3 separate regions of the Homo sapiens genome follow, and all the other regions are linked to region 1. The links are contacts of gene promoters, found by promoter capture Hi-C in blood cells and fetal thymus (Javierre and others, 2016). All regions are on one chromosome and are shown on one strand. The core of a region is centred on a gene start or on the middle of the fragment in contact, and the rest is flanking DNA. Distances in the headings are between cores, read along the strand shown. Region 1 holds the start of LENG8-AS1 (LENG8 antisense RNA 1). Region 2 holds the start of CADM4 (cell adhesion molecule 4). Region 3 holds the start of PSMD8 (proteasome 26S subunit, non-ATPase 8).

Evidence for each region. The method cuts DNA at HindIII sites, captures the fragments that hold promoters and counts their contacts. A CHiCAGO score of 5 or more calls a contact.
Region 2: a contact is called between the fragment with the promoter of CADM4 here and the fragment with the promoter of LENG8-AS1 in region 1, in 1 of 17 cell types (non-activated CD4 T cells). The highest score is 5.1, in non-activated CD4 T cells.
Region 3: a contact is called between the fragment with the promoter of PSMD8 here and the fragment with the promoter of LENG8-AS1 in region 1, in 3 of 17 cell types (naive CD8 T cells, naive CD4 T cells and total CD8 T cells). The highest score is 6.2, in naive CD8 T cells.

The regions. Positions count from the first base shown.
Region 1 is chr19:54,447,532-54,450,706 of GRCh38, forward strand. It overlaps LENG8-AS1 (LENG8 antisense RNA 1), which reads right to left and starts at 1,507. Exons shown (of 3, transcript NR_126418.1): 1 at 1,031-1,507; 2 at 634-684. LENG8 (leukocyte receptor cluster member 8) reads left to right here and starts at 1,668. Exons shown (of 16, transcript NM_052925.4): 1 at 1,668-1,779. RefSeq lists an enhancer at 1,418-2,325. The HindIII fragment of the contact is 2,202 bases long and covers 433-2,634 here.
Region 2 is chr19:43,638,266-43,641,719 of GRCh38, forward strand. It overlaps CADM4 (cell adhesion molecule 4), which reads right to left and starts at 1,585. Exons shown (of 9, transcript NM_145296.2): 1 at 1,462-1,585. The coding sequence starts at 1,525. RefSeq lists a silencer at 1,469-1,608. The HindIII fragment of the contact is 9,580 bases long and covers 1-3,388 here.
Region 3 is chr19:38,372,703-38,376,140 of GRCh38, forward strand. PSMD8 (proteasome 26S subunit, non-ATPase 8) reads left to right here and starts at 1,869. Exons shown (of 7, transcript NM_002812.5): 1 at 1,869-2,259. The coding sequence starts at 1,900. RefSeq lists enhancers at 1,778-2,408, 2,039-2,178. The HindIII fragment of the contact is 10,393 bases long and covers 1,525-3,438 here.

The sequences.
Region 1 (3,175 bases), core at 257-2,756:
AAACCACTTTTGTTGGTGCTTGTGATGACAGCATCAGAAGAAAGTGGGCATAAAACATGGTGGACTGCTTATGATCTTTGCAACTTTTCTTTTTTTTTTTTTTGAGACAAGAATTTCACTCTTGTTGCCCAGGCTGGAGTGCAATGGTGTAACCTCGGCTCACTGCAACCTTGGCCTCCTGGGTTCAAGCGATTCTCCTGCCTCAGCCTCCCGAGTAGCCGGGATTACAGGTGCACGCGCCACCACGCCCAGCTAATTTCTGTATTTTTAGTAGAGACGGGACTTCACCATGTTGGCCAGGCTGATCTTGAACTCCTGACCCCAGGTGATCCACCCATCTCGGCCTCCCAAAGTGTTGGGATTACAGGCGTGAGCCAGCGCGCCCGGTCTTTGCAACGTTTTGAATAAATCCAAAATTATTCCAGAACAAAAAGCTTAGTACCAAAAAGAAAACAAAAACAAAAACAAAACAAACCCCCCCCCCCCCACAGAGTAAAATAACGGAAAAAGATCTACTATGCTAGCACTAACAAAATAATACGTAGTTATGAAAATGGTATGTATTTTTCAAGCTAGACGTTCATAATGGTAGAACATGAGGAGGAAAACTGCCTCTTAAATCCCACCACTTACTGTGACACAGTGACCGGTCCCTGCAGCGGACTGGATAGTTGTATCAGAGTCCTGGACGGAAACAGATGGCACTCAAAAGGTGGCGCGCAGTTCAGAGAAATGCCTATGTACGGATTTGGTCCAATGCCTCAGCCTGACCTCAGGGACCTTCGGGGGTCTGCTCCGCGCCCACCCTTACACATCTGTGACCCCACACACTTCCACCCCAGCGCCACTGCCAACAGCTACACCCATCCCCCTCCAACCGCGTCAGCTTCCAGCCTCGGTCCATCTGAACTCGCCGTGCCCCCTCCCCTGCGCCCTTCCAGATTCATTTGCTAGGGAAGCCCGCTCTTCCGGGTGGAGCTGTTCCTCATCCCCTTTCTTTATCATTCTCTCCCCAGGGCTTCCACATCACCGTGCTGTGGACAATCCCGGAACTCCTGTCACGCCAGTTTACATTTAGGAACAGTAATGGCTCCCACTGACTCAGTCAAAACAAGGCTGCGGCCGGGCACGGTGGCTCACGCCCGTAATCCCAGCACTTTGGGAAGCCGAGACGGAGGGATCACGAGGTCAGGAGTTCGAGAACAGCCTGGCCGACATGGTGAAACCCCGTCTTTACTAAAAACACAAAAATTAGCCGGGCATAGTGGCGCGCGCCTGTAATCCCAGCTACTCCGGAGGCTGAGGCAGAATTGTTTGAACCCAGGAGGCGGAGGTTGCAGTGAGCAGAGATCACGCCACTGTACTCTATCGTGGGCGACGACAGAGCAAGAGCAAGACTCCGTCTCCGAGAACAACAACAACAGCAACAAGAAAACAACAATAAAAAAAATAAGGCTGCGTGGGAGGCAGAAAGAGCTAATGCGGCCACGCTTGTCTCCTCGGGGCCACCGTCCCCACCCAGACTTCCGGTCTGCCTTAAAATGTTCATGCGTAAGTGCGTGGGCAGGAAGGCGGGCTCAAGCGCAGCTCGTGGCGTTCATTGGCTGTGCAGGGCCGAGGGAGGCGGTGCAAGGCCGCCGCGTGACGTCAGGACGCCGCGGTCAGGACGTCGAAGCCAAAGAAGACCAGAGCCAGCCGGGTGGCACAGCGGTGTCGTGGCCGTGTTGCTGATCGCCTGGGTGGTTGTTGGCGTGTCCCTGCAGCGAAGGATCCTGGTTGGTAAGGGGAGCGGCAGGCGAGCAGGCGGGCGGGGATAGCATCTCCTTTTGGTCTTGCGCCCCGCGAGCCCCGAGGCCTTCTCGGCCGTCGCAGCAGCAGACGCCGCGCGCGAGCGTCGACAGGGTGTGGCGGCGCAGGGGCAGCCACTGCGCCTGCGCACCGGGCCTGGGGCCGCGCGTTCGGGCACTAGCGCGCGTGCGCCGTCGTCTTCTAATTTCCGTTCCTCTCCCTTGGAGTTCTCGGGGCCCCGGGGCGCCCCTCACTCGCCGTTGACCGGGTGTTGCCCCGGGCGACGGGCGGCTCCTGCGCGTCTTTCTGGGGCGTGGTGCGCAGGCGCGGCCTGGGCAGTGGCTCCGTGGCTAGTCGTGGGGATCCGAGCGGCCTCCTCCACCCGGCGTCCTCCTTTGCCTTCGCCCAGCCTGCGGGACGGCCAGGTGCTCCCGGGACCTCAGGCCTCGCGTCTGATGCCTGTCTCTGTTCTTGAGACCCGTCCGGGAGTCCTCTGTCCAGCCCCCAACTCCTGACCTTACCTCTAATCTCCCTTCTGCCCTGGGGCTCCTCTTCCTGTGTCCCCGCCACGATCCCTCGTCTCCACCCACGCCCTGTGTCCTGTTTAAGTTAAGCCTTTGCGTTTCTAGGGCTTTTCCCCAGCTCCAGACTCCCGTTCCTATCCCGTCAACTCGTGGGAATTCCGGTTCTCCTGCGGGATTAATTATCCTACTTATCAGTTACTCCCTCTCGGGAGTTTAGGCTCCTGAATCCTTGCTCCGGAGACACTCCACTTTTCTTCCAATTCTCTCTGTACCCCACTCTTAATTCGTTGAACATGTTTTGGGTCTTCTTTGGCATTCCCAAAGCTTTATGTCCAGACACCCAACCACGGTGATCCCTTTTCTCTCCCAGCCCTACCCCTGCTTCCGGGAACCTCCCGTGGAAGCAGGCAGGGGTAGTCCCACTGAGGACTCCCACGTAGGTCTCTTTACTGCCCTTCGGAGACCTTTTTGAAATCAGTCTGTCAGTGCTAAGAACCCATTTCTTCACGTTGGGGTTCACGTTGGCATTCTCAGGAACGCTCAACGACCACTTGCTTCCAGGGTTAACTTCCGGAAAATCCCCTTTTCCTCTCAAAATTTTCTTCTCTTCTCCAATATTCTTCCAGCCCCCTCGATGCTCCCTGAAAGGCCTCCCTTTTCACAGAGTTCTCGGAAACCTTTCCACCCTCTCAGCCTTAAGGGTTCCCTCAGACTCTTCTCATTATAGCATCCATCCTCTTGGTTCAGGTTCCTTTCACAACCCGTACTCCCTAGCTTTTTTTTTTTTTTTTTTTTTGAGACAGAGTTTCGCTCTTGTTGCCCAGGCTGGAGAGCAATGGCGCAGTCTCAGCTTACCGCCCTCC
Region 2 (3,454 bases), core at 335-2,834, about 11 Mb before region 1:
GAGCTGGCGTTCCCTTTCATGTCACTGAGTTCAACATCCTCACTTTACAGAAAGAGAAACAGAAGCCTGGAGAGAGGAAGGTGTTTACCATTGGCTGCGATGGCAAATGGCAAGAGCCAAGATTTAAGCCCAGGCCGCCAGCCCCATGCCACCTGGTTATAACTCCTCTCACCAATCTCTGCCGAACACCCAGCCCTCCTGCTTCTGCCTAGCCACCTTCCAATCCTCTGTTCCTTCCAAAAGTGGCCTTATCCACCAGGGAGGGGTGACCCGTGGCAGGTTCAAGACTTACACAGTGTGAGAGTGTGTGTGGGTGACATTTCCTGACCTTGTCCCCATTCTCAGGGTCACCCAACCTCGGGGGTCTCCAGCTTCTCACAGTGTGTGATGAGGGTATGTGGATGGCTCCCTGGATGTCCTGGACAGGGGCTTCTCTGTGAGTCAAGCCTGGGTGTGTGAATGGGTGAGCAGGGTTTGGAGAGGCATTCGCTGAATCCACGTGTGTGCCTACACGCCAAGGTCCCCCATTCTCACTTCCCCACACACATGCACACAGATGTTCCCCTCCAGGGCTCTTTAGAATGCCCTGCCTGACTGAATTCCTCTTCAGGGGCACAGAGGGATAGAGAGAGGGAGGAAGGTAGGATGGGAATGGGAGATCCCGGGATGGAGGCTGTAAGCGTAGAGAGAGGAGGCACAGCAGAAAGACAGGGATGGAGATAGTGGGACAGAGAAGGGGGAAAGAGACAGGTGACAGAAAGGGTTAGAGAAACGAGTGACAGAAAGACAGGGGACAGAGACAAGGGGATGGGGCAGATAGGGGACAGAGAAAAAGGGACAGAAAAACAAGGGTGACAGCGAGACAGAGACAGGGACCAAGAATAGGGGCAGAGAGGGAGGGCAGAAATCCGGGGGAAAGAGAATAGACAGGATGATGGAGGGGACAGAGTGACCCAGGAAAAGGGGACAGAGACCAGGGGACAGAGGTAGGGGACAAAGACAGAATAGATGAGGAACACCGAGGCAAGAAGAGAGGGAGACAGACAGAAGGAGGGACAGGACTTCGAGACTGAGGGATAGAGGACAAGGGTAGGGGGACGAGGAGCCAGACGGGGGGGTTCAGAGACGGGCGGACAGAGGGACGCAGAGACTGGACAGAAGGACAGCGGGACCGGCCTGGGGAGGGCGGACTTGTGTGTGTAGGGGGGTCTCGGGCCCTTTGTCCCCGCCGGGATCCAGCCTGCGCGGGTGGGGGGGCTGCGGCACGGCGGCCGGGCCCCGCGCCCCCTCCCCCGCTCGTCGCTCCCGGCTCCCGGCCCGCGCTGCGCTTTGTCCCGGGGAGGGGGCCCGGCCCGGCCCCGCGCGCATTGTTCGGCCTCTGCGGCCCCGAGGCTGCCGGGCTGTCACCACAGCGCGCCCCCCGCCCCAGCCCGGCCGGCCGACCCCGGCCCCCGACCCTACCTGGCCCCGCCGCGGCCGCCCACAGCAGCAGCAGCGGCCACTGGAAGCGCCGGGCCCGGCCCATGGTGCCGCCGCCGCCGCCGCCGCCGCTCGCTCCCGGCCCGGCACCTGCACCGCCCGCGCCGCCCGCCCCGCCCCCCGCGCCCCGCCCCCTGCCCGCCCGGGGGCGGGGCGCCGAGGCCGGGGCGGGGCCGGGGAGGGGAGGGGGAGACGGAGGAGAGGCCCGGAGACAATCGGGGGGACGGCACGGTGGGGGAACGGTGCGGGGTGCGAAAGCTGGAGAGGAGAGGGGTGAGGAGGGCGGGAAGGGGTGCGCGGGAGGGCGACAGCGGCGTGGGAGCAGGTGGGGGATCTCGGTGAGCGCGGGAAATGGAGGGTGTTGGGTGAGGGTGCTGCGTGCGGGCCCAGGTGCTGCGCGCGAGGGTGCGGAGTTGCTGGCATGCAGGGTGCTTGCGCTGCGCGGAGGGGAGGGTGGCAGGGTGTTGCTGGAGGCTGTGCGAGGGTGGGGGCGCGGGCGTCGTGGGGTGCGGTGTGTGCGAAGGGAGAGCGTGGCCAGCGTGACGGGGGAGCGTAAGGGAGGGAGTGCGACGTGGGAAAGGTGAGTGTGAGAGGCGTGCTGCGGGCAGGTGGGTGTCTGGAGTCTAGCGAGAGGCTGTGAGCTGAGCCACCGGGACAGGGGAGGCTGCAGCTGGAGGTCCGGAGGGTCCGGAGGTCGAGGCAGGTCAAGGATCTCCCAGGGCAGGGCGAGGCTGGGGCTCAGGAGTGGGGTGGGGTCAGTTCCCTCCCTCCCTCTCTCCTGTCCTGACCTGAAAACCCCGTGTTTCCGCGTCATTCTCCGGGAGGGGCCCCCTGAAAGTGAACTAACTGGAAGGAAGCCTGAATCCTGGGTCCCAGGAGGGAGAGGCTCCTGTGAACACCTTCCAAGCCCTGGCGTCCCCTCTCCTCCCTGCTGTCTCCCTGCCCCAGCCTCTCTCCCTCTCTCTGCATGTATTTGCCTCTGCCCTTCCTCTCTCCCCATCTTTGAGGGTGACTCACCCCTCCAGACTTAGGTCCCTTCTCCCTCCTGGGAGTGGGTTTCCCTGAGCCCACTTCTGTGACACCCTGTAGACCTGATGCGGGATCATTACCTATGGGACCCAGAAAGAGTGAGAAACCATGGAAAGAAGGCCTCGACCTCTCTCATGCCCATTTGTCAGGCAAACTGAGGTCCAGAAGTGCCAATTATGAACATCTTTCCTTCCCCCCTCCCCCCTCCCCGCCCAGACGGAGTCTCGCTCTGTTGCCCAGGCTGGAGTGCAGTGGCACGATCTCGACTCACTGCAACCTCTGCCTCCCAGGTTCCAGTGATTCTCCTGCCTCAGCCTCCCGAGTAGCTGAGATTACAGGCGCCCGCCACCATGCCTAGCTAATTTTTATATTTTTAGTAGAGACGGAGTTTTGCCATGCTGGCCAGGCTGGTCTTGAACTCCTTACCTCAGGTGATCCATCTGTCTGGCCTCCCAAAGTGCTGGATTACAGGCGTGAGCCACCATGCCTGGCTGAAAATCCTTACTTTTTATTCCGACTAAAAAATTTTACATCCAGTCCCACAAGGGACTTCAGCTTCACACACCCTTTCTGTCCTCAGTACCCAGCTCCCAGTATCCTTTCTGACCTCAAAACCATAGCTACCATCAACCCTTGTGTCCCAGGACCATGGCTCCCAGTGTCTTCTCTGTCCTCAGGGTCCAAGCTCCCATCAACTCCTGTGTCCTCAGGACCACGGCTCCCAGCATCCTCTCTGTCCTTCAGGTCCAAGCTCCCATCAACCCCTGTGAAGCAGGACCATGGCTCCCAGCATCCTCTCTGTCCTCAGGGTCCAAGCTCCTATCAACTCCTGTGTCCCCAGGACGATGGCTCCAGCAATCCTCTCTGTCCTGAGAGCCCAAGCTTCTAACTGCCCCTGTGTCCCCAGATCCATAGCCCTGAGCAACTTCCTTCTTTTTCAGTCCTC
Region 3 (3,438 bases), core at 619-3,118, about 16 Mb before region 1:
CTGGGATTGCAGGCACCCGCCACCATACCTGGATAGATAATTTTTTGTATAGTAGAGACGGAGTTTCACCATGTTGGCTAGGCTGGTCTCAAACTCCTGACCTCAGGTGATCCATCCACTTCAGCCTCCCAAAGTGCTGAGATTACAGACTTGAGCCACCACACCCGGCCATCATTTTTGTTTAAAACATTTTTTACCACCACAACTTCTTTCACATATTAATTTACTCATTAATTCAACACATATATAATTTCTTTCTTTTTCTTTTTTTCTTTTTTCTTTTTTTTTTTTTGAGCACAGTCTCGCTCTGTCACCCAGGCAGGAGTGCAATGGCGATCTCAGTTCACTGCAACCTCTGCCTCCCGGGTTCAAGTGCTTCTCCTGCCTCAGCCTCCCAAGTAGCTGTACTACAGATGTGCACCACCACGCCCGGCAAATTTTTGGTATTTTTACATTTATTTATTTATTTTCTCTGAGACAGAGTCTCACTCTGTCACCCAGGCTGGAGTGCAGCGGCACAATCTCAGCTCACTACAAGCTGACCTCCTGGGTTTAAGCGATTCTCCTGCCTCGGGCTCCTGAGTATCTGGGATTACAGGTGTGTGCCACCACGCACAGCTGGTTTTTTTGTTTTTTTTTTTTGGTATTTGCAGTACAGATGGGGTTTCGCCATGTTGGCCAGGTTGGTCTCGAACTCCTGACCTCAAGTGATCTATCTGCCTCGGCTTCCCAAAGTGCTGGGATTACAGGCATGAGCCACCATGCCTGGCCAACAAATATTTATTGACTGTCTACTAATATTTGCCAAGCACTGAGATACTGGGAATTCAGTAGTGAAGGAAATCGTCCTGCCTTCATGGAGATGACATTCTAAATGGTGGAGACGGAGAGTGAAAGTCGGGTTTGAGAAAAACGTGCTGCCCAGGCGCAGTGGCTCACACCTCTAATCCCAACACTTTGCGAGGTCAAGGCAGGAATATCGCTTGAGCTCAGGAGTTCGAGACCAGCCTGGGCAGTATAATGAGACTCTGTCTCTATAAAAAATTTAATTTTTTTTAAAAAGAGAGAAAAAGCGATGTTGAATGTGCAGATGTAATATCAATCAGTGGAGGAAGAAGTTGGTATAAGAAGTTGTGAATACTGGCCAGGCAAGGTGGCTCATGCCTGTAATCCCAGCATTTCGGGAGGCCAGGGCCCAGGGAATCGCCTGAGTTCAGGAGTTGGAGACCAGCCTGACCAACATCTACTAAAAATACTAAAATTACGTCTCTACTAAAAATACGAAAATTAGCCAGGCGTGGTGGCACATGCTTGTAATCCCAGCTACTTGGGAAGCTGGGGCAGAAGAATCACTTGTACCCAGGAGGCGGAGGATGCAGTGAGCCAAGATTGCTCCATTGCACTCCAGCCTGGACAACAAGAGCTAAACTCCGTCTCAAAAAAAAAAAATTGTGAATCCTCCACTTACACATGACATTGAAAGCCATAGAGCTGGATGAGTTTTGTAACTAGTTAGTTCATATAAGCTTGGGAAAAAAATGTGGAAGGATGCATTGAAAAAGACTGGAGAGGGAGCCCCAGGTACACATCCTAGCTGTTAGTCCTTTGGAAGGTTACCCAGCCTCTCAGTCTGTCTATAAAATGAGAATAACACAGCTCTCCAAATGGCACGACACCCGCTACCTTTTGGCTTGGAGACGCTGCCCCGAAGGCGGAACCTCCAGGACAGCTACGTAGCGTCCCGAGCACTCAGACTGAAGCCAGGGCAGCCATGTTCATTATTGGAACCGTGAGGTGGGTAGGGGGGGTGGTGTTGAGACAGCTGTCATTTTCAGTTAGGGCAAAAGCCAACTTCCGGTCACCATCTTGAGTGACGACAGAGGCGGAGCTCCAACTGACATGTTCATTAAGGGCAGGGCTCCGAGGGCGCCACCTCGAGAGCGACGGCGGGCTACCCGGGGCGGGCTGAGGCAGGTTGTAGCCCCGCCCCGGGCCTTGGGCTCCACCTCTCGGCCCCACTTCCGCCGGGCAAGCGTTTGTAGGCGGCGCTGCCGTAAATCAGGCGGTCTGCTTGCCGCATCACGCAAGATGGCGGCCGCGGCGGTGAACGGGGCGGCAGGCTTCTCGAGCTCCGGGCCCGCGGCAACCTCGGGCGCTGTTCTGCAGGCCGCGACCGGCATGTACGAGCAACTCAAGGGCGAGTGGAACCGTAAAAGCCCCAATCTTAGCAAGTGCGGGGAAGAGCTGGGTCGACTCAAGGTAAAGTCGGCAGGCCCAGGAAACCGAGTGTTGCGGGCGTGGGAGGCGCTACGAGGTGTCTGGACCCAACCAAGTCCCGGGCCGCGGAAGCCACCTCGGTGCCAGCGAGACTGAGGCGGGCTGGGGGATCCGATGGGGTGAAAGATTTGGAACAGCCAAAGTGGGGGCTCGGAGGGCGTCAAGAAGCGAGAGAGGGACAGGGAGCGTTGATGGTCACGCCTGTAATCGCAGCGCTTTGGGAGGCCGAGGCGGGGGAGCGTCGCTTGAGCCCAGGAGTTCAAGATCAGCCTGAGCAACATAGCGAGACTCTGTCTCTACATTTTTTTTTTAAGTGAGAGATGACTGGAATGGACCCACGCGGGGGTGGTGGGGGAATGATTGGAAGACTTATGGCAGAACTGAGTGAGGGGTTAGATTTTTGGTGCGTGGAGGCTTAACTGGTCGGAGTGGCAGGATTGGGATTCGGGCTTTTCCTGATGGTGGATTCCAGGCAAGACCAAGTGGGAAGTGAGGACTGCCCGGAGTGATAAAAGAATGAGGCTGAAAAGGTGGGCTGTGTAGAGGGTGTGTGGTTAAGACCAGGCTGGGTTAGGATCTGAGAGATCTGGGGCTTAGGCTCGCATCTGTTGGGAGAGGGGGCAGCCTAGTTGTGAAGGCAGGACTGAACCTAGAAGAAATATTCTTACAAGTAGAGAACAAGAATACGGGGCCCAGAGTGCTTCAGACCAAACATCTGTTGGGAGGGAGTGTAAATCCAGTGGCTTGGAACAAGCTGCTGAGCCTGCTAAGGAAAGATGTATGGGCTGAACTGTGGGGGGAGATTTGGACCTCCCCCTCCCAGATATAGATTTTGGGGATAGCCCAGCTACCCCTTCCCCAATAGATTGTGGGGAAGATGGGCCAAGAATGGAATGTACTCCTGTCCCCACCGCCGCGTGATTCCACTGGGTCAGGCACTGAGTGTCCCTCCTTGTTTCCCCAGTGGGGCTATTAATAATTGTAATGTGATGTAATCTTAAATGGGCATGTGTTGCGTGCTCAGGCCCTGTTCTGAGTGCTTTATGAGAAAGCATTCCTCATGAGTCTGGATGATGGTTAGCTCCATTTTCCAAGTGGGAAGACCAGAGCGTAGAGCAGGTAAGTCATCTGTATTTGAATTCCCTTCTTTTCTTTCTTCCC